Linked DNA regions of Homo sapiens: region 2 is linked to region 1. Evidence: promoter capture Hi-C in human tissues and cell types (Jung and others, 2019). All regions are on one chromosome and are shown on one strand. Each heading gives the region's core, a stretch centred on a gene start or on the middle of the fragment in contact. The rest is flanking DNA. Distances are from core to core; before and after follow the strand shown.

What was found. The method cuts DNA at HindIII sites, captures the fragments that hold promoters and counts their contacts. A contact is called where the count stands out against the background at its distance.
Region 2: a fragment that was not itself captured here is called in contact with the fragment with the promoter of CLMP in region 1 in 1 of the 25 tissues and cell types used here (IMR-90 fibroblasts).

The regions. Positions count from the first base shown.
Region 1 is chr11:123,192,280-123,198,258 of GRCh38, reverse strand. It overlaps CLMP (CXADR like cell adhesion molecule), which reads left to right and starts at 3,011. Exons shown (of 7, transcript NM_024769.5): 1 at 3,011-3,346. The coding sequence starts at 3,319. The HindIII fragment of the contact is 11,250 bases long and covers 1-5,979 here.
Region 2 is chr11:122,802,643-122,808,319 of GRCh38, reverse strand. It overlaps UBASH3B (ubiquitin associated and SH3 domain containing B), which reads right to left. Exons shown (of 14, transcript NM_032873.5): 12 at 1,804-1,910; 13 at 144-253. Among named protein-coding and RNA genes, the nearest start is that of CRTAM, 33 kb to the left of the region's middle. RefSeq lists enhancers at 2,986-3,504, 4,308-5,050. The HindIII fragment of the contact is 4,850 bases long and covers 1,931-5,677 here.

The DNA.
Region 1 (5,979 bases), core at 1,762-4,261:
TAAGGACTATCTCGTAATCTTGGGATCCTCCGAGGCACCCAGCCCAGAGTGGGGCCCAGCACTGGTAGGGATGGGATGTGAGTTACAAACCATCGCAGAAGCACTCTCTCTCTGCTCTTCCTGCCCAGAGACCCATGCCAATAGAAAAGAGGTTTCAGATTTAGAGACAGACACCTTCAGGGACCCAAAGATCCTCTTCCAAAAAATATGTGCCATATTGGCTACAAGACTTGGGGCTGGGAAAATTGAGTGCTTGTGACCCAATCTCAGTCTAATCATTTCCTGTGCTGGTGACTAATGACCTAGAGCCAAAGGCGCCTGTTACCTTCGGCTTGAGCAACTGGGTTTAAACACATATCTGCCTACACCCACACACATCTGTCTTCATGCGCACACCAGCCCTCAAGCAATAAACAGCACTGGCATTACTAAGTTCTTGAGAAAGGCCACCAGCAGCGGTGGGGTGGAGGTGAGGCTTTAAAACTTGTGCAAAAACCCCACCTCTAGAGAGAAATAAAAAGGGGGAATCTGGGTGAAGAATTTTTGTACTATTTTCAACTTTTTTGTAAGCCCAAAATGTCAATTTTTTTTTTAATTATAAAGCAGAAACAACAAAAGAGTTACCTTCTGTATGTAGTTTTTCTGCCACCTTCTCCAGCCTTTAAGAATTACTGTTTTTGGCTGGGGATGGTGGCTCATGCCCGTAATCCCAGCATTTTGGGAGTTCGAGTCAGGTGAACTGCTTGAGCCCAGGAGTTTGAGACCAGCCTGGGCAATACAGCGAAACCCAATCTCTACCAAAAATACAAATATTAGCCGGGCATGATGGTGTGAGCCTGTAGTCTCAGCTACTTGGAAGGATGAGGTGGGAGGATCACTTGCACCCAGGAGGCAGAGGTTGCAGTGAACCTGGGTGACAGAGTGAGGCTCTGTCTCAAAAAAAAAAAAAGAAAAGAAAAAAGACGGTTTTTTCAACATATTCATTTACAAATTATAGTTGTGAATGTATCTATTTCCCCTATTAGACAATTAGTATGAAATGGAAAATAAAGTTACTTCGGAGTCAAAGAGACCTTTTAAACACTTCTCAATATAAAAAATAATATTTTTAAATATTAGAATATTAATATTGGAATAGAAGCATTTTAATTCTATTGTGATCTGGGGCAAGATATTTAGGCCTCTCTAAGTTATAGTTTCCTTGTCTTCCTATTCATGCTAAGGGATGGTGATTTTTTTTTCAGTGACTATCCCTTAGCAGTATAATAAGAATGATATAAAAAGGTCAATAATATGACCCAATAAAAACCACGTAATAATATAATATGATTCTGGGTCCATACTTGGTGTTCATGACATACTCCTCCCAGGTTTTTTTAAATGTCAACTTCCAAGTTCTACTCACTTTGTGTCCTCACACCTAAAAAAGCACCTGGCATAGTGTGGATGCTAACACATCGGTATCGAAGGGGTGAGGGAGTGAGTGGAGAAATGCTGCAATTCTAAAGCAATGCTCCAGCTGATCCGCGAGCCCTAGGAACAGCCCCAGCTTTTGCAAGTCCTCTGAGTGACCTTGTGAAACTTCCATAACCTCTCCAGGCCTTTGCTTTCCTAGTCTGCGAAATGGGACGGGTTTTCATTACACATTTGCATTTCATTGCAAATGTGTGACTCGGCAGCCCACCGGCCCCGGCGGGGTTCATCTTTCTTCTCAAGAGCGCTGGCCCCGGCTTCCAACCTGGGCTCTGGCGAGGCCGAAGGTGAGCGATTGCGTCATCATGCCTCTGGGCAGCTGAGGGAGAAGCCCTCCAGGGACATTCAGAGACTGGGACCAGAGTTTCTGAGAGGCCCTGGGCACAAGGTCAGGGCAGGAGGTCCAGGCAGCTGAGGTCTGAGCGCCACCCTCACTGCCCTTTCTTAGTCTCGCTGCCTCCCGCTGCCGCTGAGCAGCAGGGTAGTGAAGGGCAGACTCCCAGGGGCCGACCCTGGGGCGGGGCTGCTCGGCTCCGCGGAACCCACCGTCCGCCCCCGTCCGGCCGCCAGCCTCCTGCCCTCCGCGAGCCTCCTGGGCCGGGTTCCCGGAGCCCGGGCGCGCAGGCCCTGGCACCAGGGGGATTCTGCTCCCTCTGCCTTATGTTCTTTCTGAAAGGGGGTGGTGCACATTTTGGCCAGGGCCACGTGCAGAGCACTTTGCTGCAAAGCATCTCGATAGACCTCTTTCCACGGGGCTGTGGGTCCCCTTCCCCTGGGTGCTGGCTGGCTTAGCTCTGCTCGGGACCTGAGGGAGCGCTGCTGCAAATACCGACAGTAGAAAGCGAGCGAACGCGAAAGGCCCCAGGAAAGCCAGGCCAAGGGGGGTAGCCGGGTGCCAAAGCAGGCAGTCGGTGGGGAGAGCCCTGGTCGGCCGGCCGCTGGCTGCCTTCGCACCCACTTCCGCGCCCCGCCGTCGGCCTGGTCAGTCTGGTGGCTTTACACTAACAGAACCAGACGGGGAGGGAGAGGAGAGGCGAGAAGAGCGCAGAGGACAGAGGGGAGAGGGCATGAGGAGACGAGGAGGGAGAGGCAAGAATGCGAACAAGGAGACCTAGAGAGGAAGAGATGGAAGAGAGAAACGCCAGATTTGTGAGAGACGTGGAAGCAGAGAGAAACGAGAGTAAAAAAGAAGCGAGAGAGAAGTGGAGAGAAGGACCAAGTGAGAGCAGAGCTCTAGGAACGGACAAGGCCTCGTCCATGGGCTCTCAGCCGAGGTGTCACCAATGCCTCCTGCAAAGAATCAATCCTACGCCCGGCGCCTCTCAACCCACCCGCCTCTGCACGGCCCCAGGTCTCCCCCGGCCCTCCCTGCCCGGCCAGCTCACGCTTCTCCCCGACCGGCCCCCACCGCAAACCCCAAACGCCGCGCGGGAGGGAGGGAGGGAAGGAGGGAACAGCGAGAGAGAGAGGGAGGGGCTGCGGTAGGAGGCAACCATGTGGTTCCAGCTGAATTTTTTTTTTCCCTCTCTCTTTCTTCACTCCTTTTTCTTTCCAAACAGGGAAAAGTGTTCCACGAAGCGGTAGCGCCTTTTCGCCTCGCGTTTTCCTCCCTGACCCTGGTCCCGGCTCCCGTCCGGGCGCCAGCTGGTGGGGCGAGCGCCGGGAGCCCATCTGCCCCCAGGGGCACGGGGCGCGGGGCCGGCTCCCGCCCGGCACATGGCTGCAGCCACCTCGCGCGCACCCCGAGGCGCCGCGCCCAGCTCGCCCGAGGTCCGTCGGAGGCGCCCGGCCGCCCCGGAGCCAAGCAGCAGCTGAGCGGGGAAGCGCCCGCGTCCGGGGATCGGGATGTCCCTCCTCCTTCTCCTCTTGCTAGGTGAGTGCCTCTGGGAGGGCGGGAGTTTGGATGGCCGTGGGCAAACGCAGCCCTGCGTCCGGGAAAGACGCCGGTTCTGACCGGGTGTCCCTGCAGCCCCTGGAGTCAGCCGGCTTTTCAGTCCCTGCCTCCTGGCCACGGAGGAGCACATCTGGCAACCGAGGGCCGCCCAGTCGGCCATCGAGATTGTCTCGCACATCTGGGCCCTTGAACAGGCTTGGGGAACCGTTTGATGTGCAGGGTCCTCTTTAGGGCGGTGTTTAGTTTCTGGTGTATCTGGGAAAAGTGGAGAATTGGTGGAGGGAAGGTTTATCCAGGAATTTTTGTGCCAGGTTCCTGAGGGTGGGGGTTTTTTGTTGTTGTTTCAAACAGGCGCCTCCGAGGCTCAGATTAGAAACAGATGTGTTAAAGGGTGAGCAGAGTGGGGGATAGGCAGGGTTGGAGAGGAAAGGGGAGAGGGAAAAAGGGCAGGGCCCAAGGAGCACCAGGAAGATGCAAATGCCCCAAGTCACACAGGGAAGGAAGGAAAAGGGGAAAGGGGAAGGGTTGGGAAGGAGAGAGAAAAAGAGGAGAACAGGAATGTAAAACAGAAGAGCAAGGCTGGGGGAGTCCGAGCACAGAGAGTGAAGAAGACTTGGAAAAAACGCAGCAGAGGAACCAGAACAGAGGGAAATAGAGCAAGCACCACTTTTTCCTGAAACAGGCTCCAGAGCAAAGGGAAGAGTCCTCCTGAGCGTCCCTTCCTGGGGTCCCCCAGGCAGGACTCTTGGGGCCTCAGAGGCCCTGAGGCAGAGGCAGGTTTGCAGGAGAGGACATCAGGGATGTGGGTGGTAGGAGCCCACCGGAGTGACTGGAAATGTCTGAGGAGCCAGGGCAGGAAAGGCAGTCAGGGAGAGCCAAGGGCACGTCACTATGCACCCTGAAGCATGGGATCCACTGCAGACAGGCCCCACAGTTAGCTGGAGATCAGAAAATCAAAGAGCCAGCCAGTGGTCAAGAGTGAGCACTACCCTGAACACCAGGCCACGGGAGAGCTGGTCCTGGTTTTGAACTGACTAGCTGGGTGGCCTCAGACAACTTACTCCTTATCCAGGGCTTCCACGTCTTTAGCTCTGGAAAGAGAATACTAGATGGTTCCTAAGTCCCTTCTAGCCTACAACACCAGAGGTTTGAAGGAGGCTGGTGTCTAGAAGAACCACCAAATCCTGAAATACGTGGTTAGAGTTCTCTGTCTTTTTTGAAACTTTACAAACCAATTATACTGTATGCATACCCATCTTGGCCAGCCTCAGGCTGATAATCACTTAAGTTAGAGAAATGAAAGAGGTGGGCTAAGCCAAACTATTGCTCAAGTAAGGCAGGTGGGGAGGGGTTATTTTCTAAACTCTTTTAGACTTAACCAAATACTGCAATACTGTTCCTGTGCACATCTGGCGCAGCTGGATGGCACCTTGATTCCCTTTACTGGACTCTACCACTAGGTTACCAATCACCAGATATTTAGTAGAATGAAACTTCAGGGCTCTCTTATTAAAAACAGCTAATAGTCCTTGTTATATGAACACTTTATATGTACTATCTTGGTAATTCGTTTGTTCTTCACAACAAGCCTATTGGCTGCCCAGCCATCCTTGTTGGCTACCCTCATTTTACAGATGAAGAAACCAAGCTGTAAAAAGGCCAGGTAACTTGCTCAAGGCCACACACTCATAATTAGGGGAGACGGAATTTGAGCGCAGGCTGCCTGCTTCCAGAGAAAGCTTGCTAAAGCGCATTGCTTTACAGCCTCCTGTGGCTGCAGAGATTCTCAAAGCGCTTACCCTCTGCCACACCTGGCTGGCTCTTCGATCTCACCATCCTCTTCATGGAATGTAAGATGTCAGCGTGACCTATAGGAGAGAGGTCTGGGAAAGGGAAAAAAAATTTGCACTTTTTGAGCACCTGTCCTTATTTAAGAAATGGTTTGGAGCCATGGAATGCTCGGACACTGTTCAGCAAAGGCAGAAAGAAAACACAGCAAGTTGTCTGAATCCTGAAATCATCATACTGGTCCTTTAAAGGGGCAGTTCCAGGGCTGCTTCTGATCCTGGCTGGCATGGTTTTTGGCTTCTCTTTTTCTAAAGATTGCACAGTATCAAACAGGGGCTGGGAGGGTGGAGAGTGTTCATCGTCTGAACTGTGGGACAGTTGACTCCATGTTTCCTGGACCTGCCAATGAGTGAGGTCAAATAACCCACCTCTCTGATGTGAATGAATAAGAAGTGCTCTGAGCCCCATGGAGAAGAGAGAAGGAGCTCCAGCTCAGCCCCTCTTCTGACCCACTATCCTGCCTCACTCCCGTAACGTTCCGGCCCTCATTGTGCCACCTTAACTTCTCTCCTGGATGACTATAGTAGCTGCCACGTTCCTGTCCTGCCTGTCCTCTCTCCTCCATCCTGCACACTGCTACCCGAGTAACCCTGTGAGGCCGCTGGTAGAATGCACGAAGCTGGAACTTAAGAGTCTGGCAACCTCTCTGGTTCTTATTCTGACTCCCTTGTCTGTACAATGGGCATAGGGGTAGGGGAATGTTCAATTCAAAATTTCTATAATTCTATGGTTTTTCTCCCTTCTTCCAAAAACCTTTAGTAGTC
Region 2 (5,677 bases), core at 3,106-5,605, 390 kb after region 1:
TACATCTTGGTTGAGTGAAGCAATAAATGAATATTCCCAGCTCAGCATAAACACATGCTTCAAAGAACTTGGTAATCAGCCAGTCACTGTACTGACTTCAAACTACTAGCCATCACGGACCCCAAAGTACGAGAATGAATTACCTTTCGGACCATTTGTACGAAGTCCTTGGAGTTCTGAGGTGACAGGCCCTGAAGTTGGCAGGTACACGCTTCAAGGGAAGATGCGTGGGCCACAATCAGGATGTTATTTCCTGGGGGAAAATGGCAAGGTATGGGAAGACTGTTTCTATAAAGACATGGAAACTTTGCAAATACTGGAAGCTAACTAAATGCTCTGCAGGGGAGCAAACACACTCAAGAAGACAATTTGCCTAAGCAATATTTTGAAAGTGCTTTGTTACTGATAAGGCAGCTTAATCTTTTTAAAGAAAACATTTATCTTAAAATAGTTACAGATTTATGGGGCCGGGTGTGGTGGCTCATCCCTGTAATCCCAGTAATTTTGAGAGAACGAGGAGGGAGGACCACTTGAGTTCAGGAGTTTGAGACCAGCCTGAGCAACATAGTGAGACCCTGTCCCTATAGAAAATTTTTAAAAAATTAGCTGGGTGTGGTGGCCTGTGCCTGCAGTCCCAGCTACTTGGGAGGCTGATGTGGGAGGATCACTTGAGCCCAGGAGATTGAGGCTATAGTGAGCCATGATTGCATCACTGCGCTCCAGCCTGAGTGTCAGGAGCAAGACCCTGTCTCAAAAATAATAATAATAATTATGGATTTATGGGAGGGTTACATACATATACATACATACCGACAAGATCCCATGAACCCTTCATCCCATCCCCCTCCAATGGTAACATCTTACATAACTATGGTACAGTATCAAACCCAGGAAATGGACGCTGGTACAATACACACAGCGTATTCAGATTTTAGCAGGTGTGCAAGAAGTCGTTTGTGCATATGTGACGATACAGTTCATGCAATTCTATCATATGTGTAGCTTTTTGTAACACCATGACAATCAAGATACAGGACTGTTGTGTGTCCATAGGGCTGTCTGTGCAACTCCTTCTAACATAGTTTTAAGTGTTCCCACTATAGAACTATGAGCACTTGAGACTTCCTGGTTGATAGAACATGTTGTGTACCTTTATGGTAGTGAGTGGCTAATCAATGAAAACTGGAAGGTGGGAATCATTCATAATACTGTTGCTCATGGCTGCCTACTGTTTGAATATAAGTATTTTAACTTAAAAAAAGAGATGAAGGGAATGTCCATACTTTTTTTGCAATATGCCTTTTTCACTAAAAAATTGATAGTGAACAGTCTTACATATTAAATATTTGAGCTCAGTGTTTAGAAAATTCAATAGCAAACACACTTGAGCCTTATACAACACTGCTCTTGGTTGGTGATAGCAGGGAAGGTGTATGTGTTTGTGTAGGTGTGCTGTGTGTAGGTGTGCATGCCGCTGCATCAATTATAGGCAAAACAGTGGCATGCTAGAGCTTTTGGAAATTATAAGAGGGAATCTCTTTCACAGGGTGCAAGAAGAATAGCTATAACGCAGAATTTAAGTTATTAAGAATAGTAACTAAGTCTGGTATAAACCCCTGGAATATCTACCATTTTAGGAACTCAGAGAATATTACAAATTTAATGTAAAAGTATCTGGAAGAAAATCTGGAAATACATTTCTTTGGTTAGCCAAAGCAAGTTGAAACATCTTGAATAACCTATTAACCATTATAGAGAAATAATCACGTATGTACAGATGGAGTTCAGAATAATACCACTTACCTTTACTTTTACATTCACTTATTATTTCTTTTGTTACTTGGAAACTTCTACTGATATAAGTATCATAGGATTCTGAAACAACTAATTTGCTGATTGGAATGTGAGGTCTGTAATAGAAAAATGAACAAAGGAAATGAAAACATTTTGATCTTGAGACAAAGGAAGATATCACTCTAAACTTTTATTTCAAGGCATTTCTAAAGATCCCGTAGATCTGTTTGTTTATCCATTTCCCTAGAAAGGAGAAAGGTATAGGGAACAGCATTTCTACTATATGAACATGGAGTGGAAATGTACAGAAATAACAGCTATGTGTATGGCGTTACAGTGACCAGGTGAAAAATGAGACATTCAGTGCATGTTTCACTCTCGGGATAACAAATAAGCCATTGATGGATGGTCCTAGTCACATAGCTAATACAAAACAAAGCAGAGATGGAACCCTCAACCTATTTAGATCAGCAGGGATTTCCCAGACCTCTCTTCAAGAGCAGCAAGGATGGGTTTTAAACGCAGATATTAGGTCCATCTGATTCTTTGCGAGTTTATCAAATTTCACCAGTCTTTTCCTTTAATTCTCTCTTATTTTGAACACAGACCATACACTTGGCACAAGGAGAAGTGCAAAGCATAAAGATGAAGACCACTCAATTTCTGTGTTGGAAAAGTTCTCTGCCTGTGGTTGGGGTGAAGAGGTTATTGATGTAAATGATAATTACTATACAATCTACAAAGGCATGTGATACTGTGTGTCCCTCACCGGCCTGGGGGCCTGGCTGTGCCCCCCACCCAAATCTCATCCTGAATTTCCACATGTTGTGGGAGGGACTTGGTGGGAGATAATTGAATCATGGGGGCAGGTCTTTCCTGTGCTGTTCTCGTGATAGTGAATAAGTCTCACAAGATCTGATGGTTTATTTTTTAAAATTTTTATTTATTTATTTTTTGTTATTTGTTTTTTGTTGTTGTTGTTGTTTTATTTTTGAGATTGAGTTTCACTCTTGTTGCCCAGGCCGGAGTGCAATGGCTCGATCTCGACTCACTGCAACCTCCGCCTCCTGAGTTCAAGCAATTCTCCTGCCTCAGCCTCCCAAGTAGCTGGGATTAGAGGCATGCGCCACCACACCCGGCTAATTTTGTATTGTTTTTAGTAGAGACAGGGTTTCACCATGTTGGCCAGGCTGGTCTTGAACTCCTGACCTCAGATGATCCGCCCACCTCGGCCTCCCAAAGTGCTGGGATTACAGGCATGAGCCACTGCACCCAGCCAATCTGACCGTTTTAAAAAGGGGAGTTCCCTGCACAAGCTCTCTCTTTGCCTGCTGCAATCCATGTTAAGACGTGACTTGCTTCTCCTTGCCTTCCGCCATGATTGTGAGGCTTCCCCAGTCACATGTAACTATAAGTCCAGTTAAACCTCTTTCTTTTGTAAATTGCCCAGTCCCAGGTATGTCTTTGTCAGCAGCGTGAAAACGAACTAACACAGCATGGAAGAGGATGATCAAAGCTAGGCTTCCTGTCCCGGTGCCCCTGCATGTCTTCAAACCCAGTCACCAATGCCCTTGGGGCCTGCCTCTGCCTGCCTCCACCCCCGCTTAACTATGTAGAGTTTCTATGTTGTTTCTGGTCCACAAGATGTTTATCTTGTTTTCTGGGTACAACTATGTCATTTCAATTTTCTTATTTTGTCAATTTTCATATTTTGTCTTTCACTGCTGGGTGTTTAGTGCCTGGTGGAGGTGTGGTAAGTTCTCAAAATGAATTCACATGGCCTCTTGATCAGAAGTAGGCTATTACCACTACTATTAGCACTGAAAATATTTACTGAGGTTCCCATATGTGTCAGGCTCTGTGCGAGTGTCCTGCTTGCATTTCTTCGGTCTAATCCTCCCAGCAATGCTTTCATAAATGCTGTTTATGGATGACAAAACAGAAGCTCAGAAAGGCTGCAGCTGACTTCCCTATGCTAACACCGTTAGCAACTCTTAGAATCTGGATTTGAATCTGAGTCTGGAGTCTGGCCTGTGAGCCGATCCTCTACACACAGCTTCTGACAGTGCCCTTGCTAAGCCTGGCCTTCTGTGCACACCGGCTTACTGTCCAGGGGAAGGATGCCGTTCCACTTGAAGGAAACTTGCCCATATCCTGCATTCTCTCAGCATGCCTGTTTCTCCTAGGAAACAGCCTTCTGAGTCTCACAACACCCTGGGGGATAGGTAGAGACCTGAATCACCACTTGTTGGGGCTGTACCTCATTGTTCTGGAGCAAGCTTTCTCCTCTTTTTCTGTCCCCATCCCCACCTCTCACCCAGTTCCATCACCATTTATGTCACCTCATCTCCCAGGCCCATCCCCTGCCCACAGTGACAAAAGTCCACTTTGTATGGCCCAGGGAGTCATTTCAAGTGTGAGACCATGTAATGTGTGAGATTTATGTAGGTGAAGAGCGGGATACATGCTGGGATCTGGTTCGTCCTGATCAGTTCTTGCCTATGGCTTCTCCCAGCACCTTAAAGTGGAGCCTGTGAATGACTCCAGTGTCTGGAGTCCTGATGGGCTTGGCCTGAGTCAAAGCTTCCTCACCCTTGTCAGCAGGTCACGTCATGCTGCTAGCCACACCTGCAGGCCCTGTACTGTCCTCAGAGTCAGGTGGCCTTCCCCCCACCCACTCAACCTGGAATACGGTGCTCTGGAAGTCAGGTGGCATCCCCGAAACTGTATCCTCCCCCATATACTCTCTGCTCCCCACCTTGCTGTGGTCCAGGTTGTAAGCACAGGCCTCTGCTTTGAGCCTCATGCCAAAGTTTGATTTGTTTCCCCTCCAACACTCCAGATCCATACCCTCCCCCAGTCCCCTGTCCTCTGAGTCAGGGCTCTGTTCTGAAGCCCCACCCAGCTGGTGTGGATTTTGTTTTTTCTGCCTTGCTCCTCTGGCCCAGCTCCTCAAGGCTGGGGTTGTTTTCAACCCCCCCAGGCCCTGGGCTGGTCTTGCTGCCTGTGGATGATGCTTCAATATTAGTCACCAGCCTGGTTAGCTTCCCTAACTCGGCTTTCAGTCCCACCTCCCTCCTGTTCTCTTCCTACCCCTGTTGCAAGGTGAGAGGGCTCTTTCAGCAGAGCCTGCCTGATTCACACTACCCCGGCTCTCAGGGCTTCCCTTTCTGCCTGTCACCACATGTCTTCAATCATCTGGGCACCACTTCCTTGCTTCCAAAGGCTTGTCCATTTGGCATCATTAATTTCATAGGGAATTAAACTCCGGGGCTGTCCCTTTCACATGCTTCAACTTTGGCTTTCTCAACTGATTTTTCAAATTAGAGGCTTCATCTCCTACCCCAACTCCCTCGCCAAACAGAAAATGGTTGAATTGAATTCTGATTTGCCGGAGAGGAAAAGGCAATCTGGAATAAGGACTGTGTCCTGATCCCCAGGCTCCTGGCATTCATCCTTCTGCTCACACTGCTGGTGGGGTGTGTATCTGAGTGTACATTGACAGGCTCAGGTAGGACGATTCTGGAGACCTTTGTAAGGCCGCTTGGGAGGCAATGGCAAAACACATCTAGAGGAAATATAAAATACATAGTTGACCTAAATTGGTCTGGGTGGGGCTGGTGGTAAATGGTGAAAGTCACTTAACCAATGTTGGTGGCAACTCCTCCTCTTTCCAGGCCAAAGGGATGCTGGCTGCTGCATGGGGGACAACAATTTATTGCTAATTCCCTGCAAAGAACAGAAAACCAGTGGCCAGAGAGGGGATAGAACAAAATGTGAAGTGTATTCATAGGGGATCCTGTTGATTGATCTAATTTTGTTTTTGAGGAATGCTAATTCCTTTAAGACAAGCAGCAGCAGCAGCACATAACTAGTTAATGGG